Regions from separate parts of the Homo sapiens genome. Here all the other regions are linked to region 3. The links are contacts of gene promoters, found by promoter capture Hi-C in human tissues and cell types (Jung and others, 2019). All regions are on one chromosome and are shown on one strand. The core of a region is centred on a gene start or on the middle of the fragment in contact, and the rest is flanking DNA. Distances in the headings are between cores, read along the strand shown.

Region 1 (3,546 bases), core at 237-2,736, 270 kb before region 3:
TTGGTACAGGTATAATATAAAAGCAACAAGAGCTGTAACCCTTTAAAGAGTTTGTGTAAGGTAGGACAGCTTAACAAGGATTCTGGTCCTATAAGTGTCGCTTGACATGTTTTTGAGAGGTTCTTCACGTAAAATGCAGAATTCTGATCCTGTGCTGAGGGCAATAAATTCAGAGTGAGGAACTCTGAACTGTGCTCTACTACAAAAAAATAAAAAATAAAAAAGGCCCAGTAACTCAGAAAGCCTTCAAAGAAAAGGGTTTCTGCACTGATAAGCACAAAAGCCGTAGGGGCTCCAAATAAAAGGTGAGTGGCTTTTCTCCAGGAGACATTTGCCTAAGGTAAAGCCCCTAAGTCCCATGCATTCTACATCATAAGAAGTCCATCACCCACACTTATTTCTTCATCACCAGCCAGCCAACAGCTGTTATCTTTACCAAACCTCTCCTTTTACTTATCCAACCATTTTCTGCACACAGCCTTGTGTTCAGCCCTCTACCCAAAGAGGGTGGTTCACCTTGAAACTCTGTGTTATCAAGGCCCCTGATGGCCTCCACTGCATCCTCTGCCCGCTCCATGTGTACGAAGGCATAATCTTTCACGATGTCACATTCGATGACCGGACCATACTCCTCAAACTTGGCTCGAAGCTCCTTATTGGTGCAGGTGGGACTGATGTTGCCCACATGCAACTTTGTTGAGGTTTTGCTCTTATTCTTGCTGGCTTCCACGTTGATGTTCACCCCATGAAGCTTGTAATGGTGCAGGTTGCGTATGGCATCCTCAGCTGCCGTCTTGTCTTCTATGTGCACAAAGCCGTAATTCTTAATGATGTCACATTCCAGCACCTTCCCATACTGCTCGAAGAGTGAGCGAATCTCCTGCTCTGTAGCCTCCCGGGGCAGGTTTCCGATGAACAGCTTCACCATCCTGACAAGAGCCTGGGAGAGAAAAACAAGACATCTGACAAAAGACCTCAGGCCCACATCCGTTCACAAAAGACAACGACTTTCACTCTAATGTATATTTCCAGTTTTCTCTCTCACACGCCTGCACACACACCTCCACACAATAATCAAATGGAAGTGGGAGTGAACTAAGGCCTGCTATAGTAGCCGCCATGAACCTGTAAGAATAAGAAGACGTCTGCAATAGGGAGGTCCTTAGTAGACAAAGGGTTTGGTAAGAACCGATACCTTCCAACAGAAATGGGCATGAAAGACAGCATATGAAGAAATGGGGGTACTAGGCTTTTCTATCCACTAGGAGGACAACAGAAAACAAAAGTCTACTAGGCTTGCTGACTGCCTGCCTGAAATTATCAACAGGCTTTTCCTCACGTAGGAACCAAAGCAGCCATCATTTCCGGGAAAATGGGCCTTGTAATAGCTACATTTGAGTTTCCTTTGGAAGTAATGAACGCGCGACTCGGATCAGACAGCGAGGAGTGGGAGATAAAGGAAATACTGGAGTGGTGAACGCCTCTCTCGGGGCACCGTCCTAGCTCCTGCCGAACACTGAAATGCGCGGCCGCGGAAAAGAGCTTCAGATTCATTAACCAGACGATGTCTCACGGCCCGAGAAATTCCCGAAACGAGAATGTAACTGTCAGATATAAGGGAAAGGGGGTTATCCCAGTGGAAATCTCGAGGCTCCAAGAGCAGCCATGTCGGGCGCGGGACAGGGTGGGCGAAAAAAAGCAAGGTATTCTCAGGGGGCGGTGGGGGAAGGGCTGCTCCCGGCTTACCGCGCAATGCCGAGGACCGAGGTCGGCTCTCAGTGACGGGTGTGGAGACTGCGGACCTACCAGGACACCCCCGAAGCCCAAGGGAGTGAGAGAAGATTTAACACAGTACAAGAAAGGCAGTGGAAAGGCTCGGAGTCTCACCCGCACAGAAACCAGCAGGGCCTCCTCCTCGCGGCGCGGACGCTTCTGACAAAACGCTAAAATGGCGGCGGCCGCAGCAGTGCTCTGAGTAGAAGGGGGAGGTGAGCCTACAACCGGATTGGCCACTCAAGAAAGTAAAAGGCCGGCGTTCCCTCAGATCCTCTTCCTGATTGGTTACCACGGACGCCAATTACCTAAGAGGCCGGCAAGAGGTGGAAACGTCTGTAACCTCGGAGCTTTTATGCGAAAGCCAATGGGCACCAACCTCGCGAAGCCGAACTCGCTGATTGGGCAAGAGATCAGCGTGAGGGCGGACCTACAAACGTGGGCTTCGCCGGCGGGGTGCGGCCCGCCATTAGGCGGAGCGAGCTAGAGCCCCGGGGTAGCAGTCTTTAGCTTCATGGCGCCAACTTCGTTAAGCTTCCACATTTCGCCACCTCCACGTGCACAGCCAGACAGTATTCCGCGCTCCATTTTGCCGTTCACTCTAGGTGTCTCCCTCTAACCTCCCAAGCACCACCCCCCCTCGCGGCCAGGACGCTGTGGAAATAGCTTATGCAGGCACATGCCAGGGAAGAAAAACAACGAAGACCCCCCCCAACCCACCACCCACCACTTCAGGAAACCAACCTTCTCCTTGGGCCAGCAGTCCACACTGTAGCCTTGAGAGTCCCGGAGCTCCCCCAAAATCAAACCTCTCACAGGTGGTGAAAGGACCTCTGTAATGGCCTTCCAGAAGTAGGCCCGGCAGGAGGCTGCACTGTCCAGGAGACGCTGAGGACAAGTTCCCTCTGGGAACCAGCCTCCCAGGGTCCGCGATGAAGAAACCTTTCTGAGACCATGGAGATTTAAAGTATACCCCGACCCCACCCTGAGAAAAAACTGGAGCAGCAAAGGTTTTTTTGTTTTATTTTATTGGGCGCCATCAGCCAGAGCTGTTTTAATCCCCTAGAACCGACTTTAGAGGACAGAGCTTAGTCACAACCAGCTGTAAACAAAATACAAAGTAACATTCTCCAGAGGGTCCAGCTGCTGCCTCGTTTTCTCTCATCCTTAGGCTGCTTCATATTCATTAAGCAAGCAACTTTAGTCAAGACCCTTTGCGAAGCAGCTTTTGAAAAGGGTTAAAAGGTGGAGTGCAGGGACTGGATGGAAGAACTTATAACACGAACAAAACAGGCTAAAAGCAGTGCAGAGTTTATGAGGAAAGGGATCATCAGGAGTGAAGATGACACAAGTACCACACACCACCATCCAAAGCAGCTTCTTCACCACCACCCCCGCCCCAAAAAGAGAACGGTTTCATAAAGAGAAAGGTGAAGTCAGAGTTTGGGGGGGAAAAAAAAGAGTGGGTTTTAAAACCCAACACGAGGGCCAGGTGCGGTGGCCCACGCCTGTAATCCCAGCACTTTGGGAGGCCGAGGCGGGCGGATCACCTGAGGTCAGGAGTTCAAGACCAGCCTAGCCAACATGGTGAACGCCATCTCCACTAAAAATACAAAAATTAGCCCAATGTGGTGGCAGGCCCCTGTAATCCCAGCTACTCAGGAGGCTGAGGCAGGAGAATCGCTTGAACCCGGGAGGCAGAGGTTGCAGTGAGGCAAGACAAGAGTGGCCTGGACGACAAGAGTGAAACTAAAAAAAAAAAAAACCCAACAT
Region 2 (3,692 bases), core at 720-3,219, 410 kb before region 3:
AAAAGAAACAGAACCTGATATGGTACAGATATTACATTTAGGAAAGACTTTAAAGAATCTATTATAAATATGTTCAAAGGCTTAAAAGGCGGCCTTAATGAGTGAACTGATAGGAAATGTCAGCAGATAACACTATACAAAAAGAACCAAAAAGAAATTCTATAACTGAAAAGTTAAATAATTGAAATGAAGAATTCACTTGATAGGTTTAATAGCAGATTAGAGGTGACAGAAGAGTCAGTAAAATCACTGAAGACAAATAACAAAAACTATCCAATCTGGAGAATAAAGAAAAAAAAGACTGAAGAAAAATGAATAGTCTTAGAAACCTGTAGGAAAATATCAACCAGTCTAAAATATGTGCAATGGGAGTCCCAGAAGGAGGATAGGAGAATAAAATGAGAATAGGACAAGAAAAACATCAAAAAACCATGAACAAAATTCCCTAAAATTTCATGAAAAATATTAAGGTGTGAAAAGCTCAGCAAACCCCAAGGAGGATAAATGCAAAGAAAATCACACCTAGGTATATAATAGTCAAAATGATAAAAACCAAAGATAAAGATAAAATATTGAAAGAAGCCAGAGGAAAAGCACACATCATATACACAGGAGGTATAAAATGAATCACAGCTGACTTCTTACCATAAACAATAAAGGCCAGGTCCACGCGCGGTGGCTCATGCCTATAATCCCAGCACTTTGGGAGGCCAAAGTAGGTGGATCGCTTGAGGCCAGGAGTTCATGACCAGCCTGGTCAACATGGAAAAACCCTGTCTCTACTAAAAATCAAAAAATTAGCCAGGTGTGGTGGCACATGTCTGTAATCCCAGTGCTACTCAGGAGGCTGAAGCACAAGAATCACTTGAACCCAGGAGGCAGAGGTTGCAGTGAGCCAAGATCACGCCACTGCACTCCGGCCTGGGTGAGAGAGTGAGACTCTGTCTCCAAAAAAATAAAATAAAATAAATAAATAAAAACAATAAAGCGCAGAAGACAATTGACAACATCTTTCAAAATGTTGAAAAGGAGAAAACTATCAAGCCAGATATTCCAGTGCAATATCCTTTAAAAATGAGGTTAAGGTAAAGGCATTTTAAGATAGAAGATGAAATAATCTGCTGCTAGAAGATTTGCTAAAGGATTTTCTTCAGGCTGAAGATGGAAACCCAGCTATAAAGGAAGAAATGAAGAGCACCAGAAATCATAAATAAGTGAATATAAAAGACTATTTTTTTCCTTGAATTTTTCTTGACAGCTAGCTTTTCAGAGCAAAAATAATCTCATAAGGCAGGGAATTATAAGTATTTGAGTATTTAAAAATACTCAAAATTGAGCAAAAAAACACTATTTACCTATTCTTTTGCCAATACCACAGTTTCTTTTTTTTTTATGAAAGTTTTAGGGTACATGTGCACAACGTGCAGGTTTGTTACATATGTATACATGTGCCATGTTGGTGTGTTGCACCCAGTAACTCGCCATTTAACATTAGGTATATCTCCTAATGCTATCCCTCCCCCTCCCCCCACCCCACAACAGGCCCTGGTGTGTGATGTTCCCCTTCCTGTGTCCATGTGTTCTCATTGTTCAATTCCCACCTATGAGTGAGAACATGCGGTGTTTGGTTTTTTGTCCTTGTAAAAGTATGCTGAGAATGATGGTTTCCAGCTTCATCCATGTCCCTACAAACGACATGAACTCATCATTTTTTATGGCTGCATAGTATTCCATGGTATATGTGCCACATTTTCTTAATCCAGTCTATCATTGTTGGACATTTGGGTTGGTTCCAAGTCTTTGCTATTGTGAATAGTGCCGCAGTAAACATACATGTGCGTGTGTCTTTATAGCAGCATGATTTATAATCCTTTGGGTATATACCCAGTAATGGGATGGCGGGGTCAAATGGTATTTCTAGTTCTAGATCTCCGAGGAATCACCACACTGACTTCCACAATGGTTGAACTAGTTTACAGTCCCACCAACAGTGTAAAAGTGTTCCTATTTCTCCACATCCTCTCCAGCACCTGTTGTTTCTTGACTTTTTAATGATCGCCATTCTAACTGGTGTGAGATGGTATCTCATTGTGGTTTTGATTTGCATTTCTCTGATGGCCAGTGATGATGAGCATTTTTTCACGTGTTTTTTTTGGCTGCATAAATGTCTTCTTTTGAGAAGTGTCTGTTCATATCCTTCACCCACTTTTTGATGGGGTTGTTTTTTTCTTGTAAATTTGTTGGAGTTCACTGTAGATTCTGGGTATTAGCCCTTTGTCAGATGAGTAGGTTGCAAAAATTTTCTCCCATTCTGTAGGTTGCCTGTTCACTCTGATGGTTGTTTCTTTTGCTGTGCAGAAGCTCTTTAGTTTAATTAGATCCCATTTGTCAATTTTGGCTTTTGTCGCCATTGCTTTTGGTGTTTTAGACATGAAGTCCTTGCCCATGCCTATGTCCTGAATGGTATTGCCTAGGTTTTCTTCTAGAGTTTTTATGGTTTTAGGTCTAACATGTAAATCTTTAATCCATCTTGAATTAATTTTTGTATAAGGTGTAAGGAAGGGATCCAGTTTCAGCTTTCTACAAATGGCTAGCTAGTTTTCCCAGCACCATTTATTAAATAGGGAATCCTTTCCCCATTGCTTGTTTTTGTCAGGTCTGTCAAAGATCAGATAGTTGTAGATATGCGTCATTATTTCTAAGGGCTCTTTTCTGTTCCATTGGTCTATATCTCTGTTTTGGTACCAGTATCATGCTGTTTTGGTTACTGTAGCCTTGTAGAATAGTTTGAAGTCAGGTAGCGTGATGCCTCCAGCTTTGTTCTTTTGGCTTAAGATTGACTTGGCAATGCGGGTTCTTTTTTGGTTCCATATGAACTTTAAAGTAGTTTTTTCCAATTCTGTGAAGAAAGTCATTGGTAGCTTGATGGGGATGGCATTGAATCTATTAATTACCTTGGGCTAACTACTGTAGCTTTATAAGTCTTGAAGTCAGGTAGTGCCAGTCCCCTGACTTTACTCTTCAATATGGCGTTGGCTATTCTGGGTTTTTCTTTCCATATAAATTTTATATTTTATTTTTGGAGACAGTCTCACTTTGTTGCCCGGGCTAGAGTGCAGTGCTGTGATCGCAGCTCACTGTAGCCTTGACCTCTTGGGCTCAAAAGATCCCCCTGAGTAGCTGGGATAGATGACCTATCTTTCCATAGCCAACTGAGCATCTTGAAACAATGGCATTTTAACAATGAAACTGAAATTCAGGGATTTGTACATCATGGTGTCAAGCTAATGACTTAATTCATCCTAAATTTCATCCTAGAAGTTTGTCCCTAAAGACATGGAGAAGGCTGGGTGCAGTGGCTCAAGTCTGTAATCCCAGCAATTTGGGAGGCTGAGGCAGGAGAATCACTTGAGCCCAGGAGTTTGAGACTGTCTCTTAAAAAAAAAAAAAAAGAAAGAAAAGAAAAAGACACAAAGTTCAGAAAACAGAAAATAGAGGTGGTAAACACTTATTAAAAGGTTCAGAGAAATATAATTAAAACTTTTAACCATCTCATTAACTTGTAAATTAGCTTAAATATTTTAAGTAATTGAAATTCCCAATGCTGGCAAAGTACGGTGAAGTTGGTAACTTTGCTACAAATGTTAGCATTACAAGACACAACTTTTTTTGGGGGGATGGAGTCTTGCTTT
Region 3 (3,650 bases), core at 737-3,236:
ATTACTAAATAATTTCCCTTATGATTCATCTGCAGTAAAATCAGGATATTATCTCGACATCAAATGTTATTGTGTATAGGTAGGTTTTGTTTTATATGAGTTTCATTGCAGGATAGTAACAAAATATTTATTACAAGGACGATGGAATCGGCTCCAGCTGACCGTCTGTGCTTTGAAATGAAATCTGAACTCCTTAATCAGCCCTCAGACTTGCCATAACCAGCCTGGCTGTTGTAGAGGCTCTGTCCCCTCCTCCCACCAATGCCAGCCAAAGGGATCTATTTGTATGTCCCAGAATGTGTCAGCACTCTCTTGTCCCTTGTCTTGGGACAGGCTGTTCTCTCCCTGAAATGCCCTCATCCTCTCCCTTCACTGTCTCAACAAATTCAGTGCTCCCTAGCCTCCATTCTCAAGTCCTTCCTTCACAACCTGTGCCATAGCTGTGCTGCACCAGCGGCCTCGCTTTTCTTTAAATAACTCATTTTCCATAAATAAATTGATTTTTCAAAGAAAAGTTGATATCATAATCATAAATAGGAAACCAGTATGAGTAGCCCTGAAAATAAAGTTGCTATAAAAATAAATATAAGAAAAATACAAGTTAATAACTTTTGATAAAATTGTCAGCAGACCCTCTGAGGCTAACTGAGGGGAAGGGATGGGAAGGCAGATTAAGAAGTGTTAGCAACCTGTTAACACCCTTGACATATTCAGAGGCTTGAAAGAAAATGGGAAGAATAACTTTCTCTTTCGGTGTAATTTAATGCTGTCTCTGTTCTCCCTAAAATCACCTGCATTTTACTGCAACCACCCATTTATCACTCAACGGCGCTAGATGCTGCCAGTAAACCAATGGACCAGATAAGCACAGCCTCTGCCCCTACAGACTCTCAGTCGGCTGGAGGAAAAACATAAGCAACCTGGGAATGGCTATAAAATGTCATTGCTTAAGAAAATAGTTTGTGGCCGGGCGTGGTGGCTCACGCCTGTAATAGCAACATTTTGGGAGGCCGATGCGGGCGGATCACCTGAGGTCAAGAGTTCGAGACCAGCCTGGTCAAAAGATGAGTTCGAGACTAGACTGGCCACCTCTTCAGTAGAGCTGGTGAAGCCCCGTTTCTACTAAAAATACAAAAATTAACCGGACGTGGTGGCATGCGCCTGTAGTCCCAGCTACTCCTGAGGCTGAGGCACCAGAATCGCTTGAACCTGCCTGGGAGGGGGAGGTTGCAGTGAGCCAAGATCACGCCACTGCACTTCCGCCTGGGCGACAGAGCGACACTCAGTCTCAAAAAAACTAGTTTGTGTTTTGGAGCCTCTCACTTCTCCAGCGTCCCCGATACGCCCGGGGATTGCAGAGAACCCACACCTATTCGTAGATTATGAGAGTAGGAGCAAATTAATGATTTATAGTCTTTTCAAATTTTTTTTTTTAACAGAAAAAGAGTAGGGAGTTGAAAGTAATGCTGTTTTTTTCCAGGCACTCCCGGGGACCCAGCGCGGCGAAGCCCGCCAGGATCGCGGGCGACCTGTGGCAGCTCTGGTTCCCCCGCCCGGGCCCGGCTCGGGTTACGCTCTGGGCGGGGACTCCGCAGCGGCTCCCTAGTTAGGGGGCGCCCCGGTGGGTTCCAGCTTTAGGGGTCGCAGGAGCGGCTCTGGCATCACCTCGGAGCTGACGAAGCGGGAAGAGCCCCGCACCAGTGCTGCCCCTACAGAGCTCTCGGCGGGGGGTGGAGGTGAGGTTACACCTCGTCCCTACCCCCGCCTTCCCCTCCGCCGCAGGGATCCGGGACCCGCCCCCGCGGAGAGGACGGGGGGCTGCGGGGAGGGGCTGTGCGGGGAGCGGGCGGGTTCCGCAGGCCCCTAGGTGGGGCGGGGCCCGAGCCAGAGTCGAGTCCCTGAGGCGGGTGGGGGAAGGAGAGACGGGTGGCGCGACCCTCTGTCCCCGCCTCGGGGCGGAGCCCAGGTCCCAGCCTGCGGAGCGCGAGACACGCCGAAATCCGCCCGAGGCTACCTGTGCGACTCCAGCCGCCCTGCACCGGAATCTGGGGAGACCCGCCCCCCGCCCCACCGGTCTGCGGCCCTCCGCCCCAGCGCAGGTGCAGGTGCGGCTTCTCTGCCCCTTTCACCCCAGGCGCATCCGCCGCGGCGGCCATGGCGCGAGGAGACGCCCCGCGGGACAGGTGAGTGGGCCCGGGTGCGTTGCAAGTGGCCGGGGGCGTTGCAGACCCGCTCCCTGAAGGCGCTCCGAGGCTCAGAGAAGACCGGATCGAACTACAATTCCCATCAGCCGACTCCCTCGGCCGCCGGAACCGGGGTGATCGGGGTTGTAGTCCGCTCCGGAGGGGGTGGCCTGGGAGGCGGGAGGGCCTGCGGAGGCGGGTGCGTCCTCGGGGTGACCTTCCCACCGATCCCCACAGCTACCACCTGGTCGGGATCAGCTTCTTCATCCTGGGGCTGGGCACCCTCCTTCCCTGGAACTTCTTCATCACCGCCATCCCGGTGAGACTCCTGGCGGCGTGGCAGCCTCGTGGCCACAGCCAGCACCCCTCCCTCCAGCCCTTTGGATGAAGCTTAGCGGGCGCTTCCTCACCGCGCACCTGTGACCCCTCGTTGAGCTCATTATGGGCTGAAGCTCGGAGAGGGGAATGCTTCCCCCGTGGCTAGGAAAGTAGAACTTCAGCAATGCCCACATCTCAGAGGGGCAAGGCCACCAGCCCACAGGGTCTGGAATGAGCAAAGGCGCTGCCACCCCTCTCTGTGTGTCGTTATTCCTGAGTCAGTCACCCCAAAAGTCGGTTATCGAACGTTTGATTTTCTTTGAAATACCATGAATTTCATTCATTCACTCATTCATTCAACAAACTTTTTTTTTTTTTTTTTTTTTGAGACAGAGTCTGGCTCTTTCGCCCAGGCTGGAGTGCAGTGGCGCCATCTCGGCTCACTGCAAGCTCCGCCTCCCGGGTTCACGCCATTCTCCTGCCTCACCCTCCCGAGTAGCTGGGACTACAGGCGCCCGCCGCCACGCGCGGCTATTTTTTTTTGTATTTTTAGTAGAGACGGGGTTTCACCGTGTTAGCCAGGATGGTCTCGATCTCCTGACCTCGTGATCCTCCCGCCTCGGCCTCCCAAAGTGCTGGGATTACAGGCGTGAGCCACCGTGCCCAGCCTCATTCAACAAACTTTTAATGTGCATCTACTGTGGAGCAGGCACTGGGGACACAGGAGGAAACAGCAGGGAGGCTCTTCAGGGAAGGCAGAAATGTGGGGTTTGCATTGTCTTTGGGACCGGGTTATTCATCTGTATTCACTGCAACAACTTTGCAAATGCTTCTTGGGTACTGGCTCTGTGCTGGGCCCTGGAAACCCAGAGATGAATCAGCCCCTGGGCTTGAGAGCAAGAGGGGGCCAAAGAGCTATTAATAATGTAACATGATGCGTGACATTCCAGGCTTGCAGCAGAGTGCAGTGGGTCCCCAGGGGAGGGAGAAAGTTCCTTCTGCTTCATGGAAGAGGAGATTTGTAAATTGGGAGTAGGGTAGGCAAAGTGCATGTGGAGGGGTGTGGTCAGTAGGGCATTCCAGGCCGAGGCGACAGCCATGCCAAAGGCAGGCAGGCAAGAGACGATCAGCCTGTTTAGAGGGAGATCC

The links. Contacts are between HindIII fragments. The study calls those that stand out against the background at their distance.
Region 1: a contact is called between a fragment that was not itself captured here and the fragment with the promoter of SLC29A2 in region 3, in 3 of the 25 tissues and cell types used here (lymphoblastoid cells, mesendoderm cells and thymus).
Region 2: a fragment that was not itself captured here is called in contact with the fragment with the promoter of SLC29A2 in region 3 in 1 of the 25 tissues and cell types used here (mesenchymal stem cells).

What each region holds. Positions count from the first base shown.
Region 1 is chr11:66,637,094-66,640,639 of GRCh38, reverse strand. All of the region lies in intron 1 of RBM14-RBM4 (RBM14-RBM4 readthrough), which reads right to left. RBM4 (RNA binding motif protein 4) reads right to left here and starts at 1,937. Exons shown (of 4, transcript NM_002896.4): 1 at 1,888-1,937; 2 at 517-940. The coding sequence starts at 928. RefSeq lists enhancers at 1,061-1,772, 1,639-2,008, 1,773-2,486. The HindIII fragment of the contact is 5,623 bases long and covers 1-3,546 here.
Region 2 is chr11:66,777,854-66,781,545 of GRCh38, reverse strand. All of the region lies in intron 2 of TOP6BL (TOP6B like initiator of meiotic double strand breaks), which reads right to left. Among named protein-coding and RNA genes, the nearest start is that of TOP6BL, 35 kb to the right of the region's middle. The HindIII fragment of the contact is 9,245 bases long and covers 1-3,692 here.
Region 3 is chr11:66,370,096-66,373,745 of GRCh38, reverse strand. SLC29A2 (solute carrier family 29 member 2) reads left to right here and starts at 1,986. Exons shown (of 12, transcript NM_001532.3): 1 at 1,986-2,183; 2 at 2,421-2,502. The coding sequence starts at 2,155. RefSeq lists a silencer at 1,531-2,290. The HindIII fragment of the contact is 13,916 bases long and covers 1-3,650 here.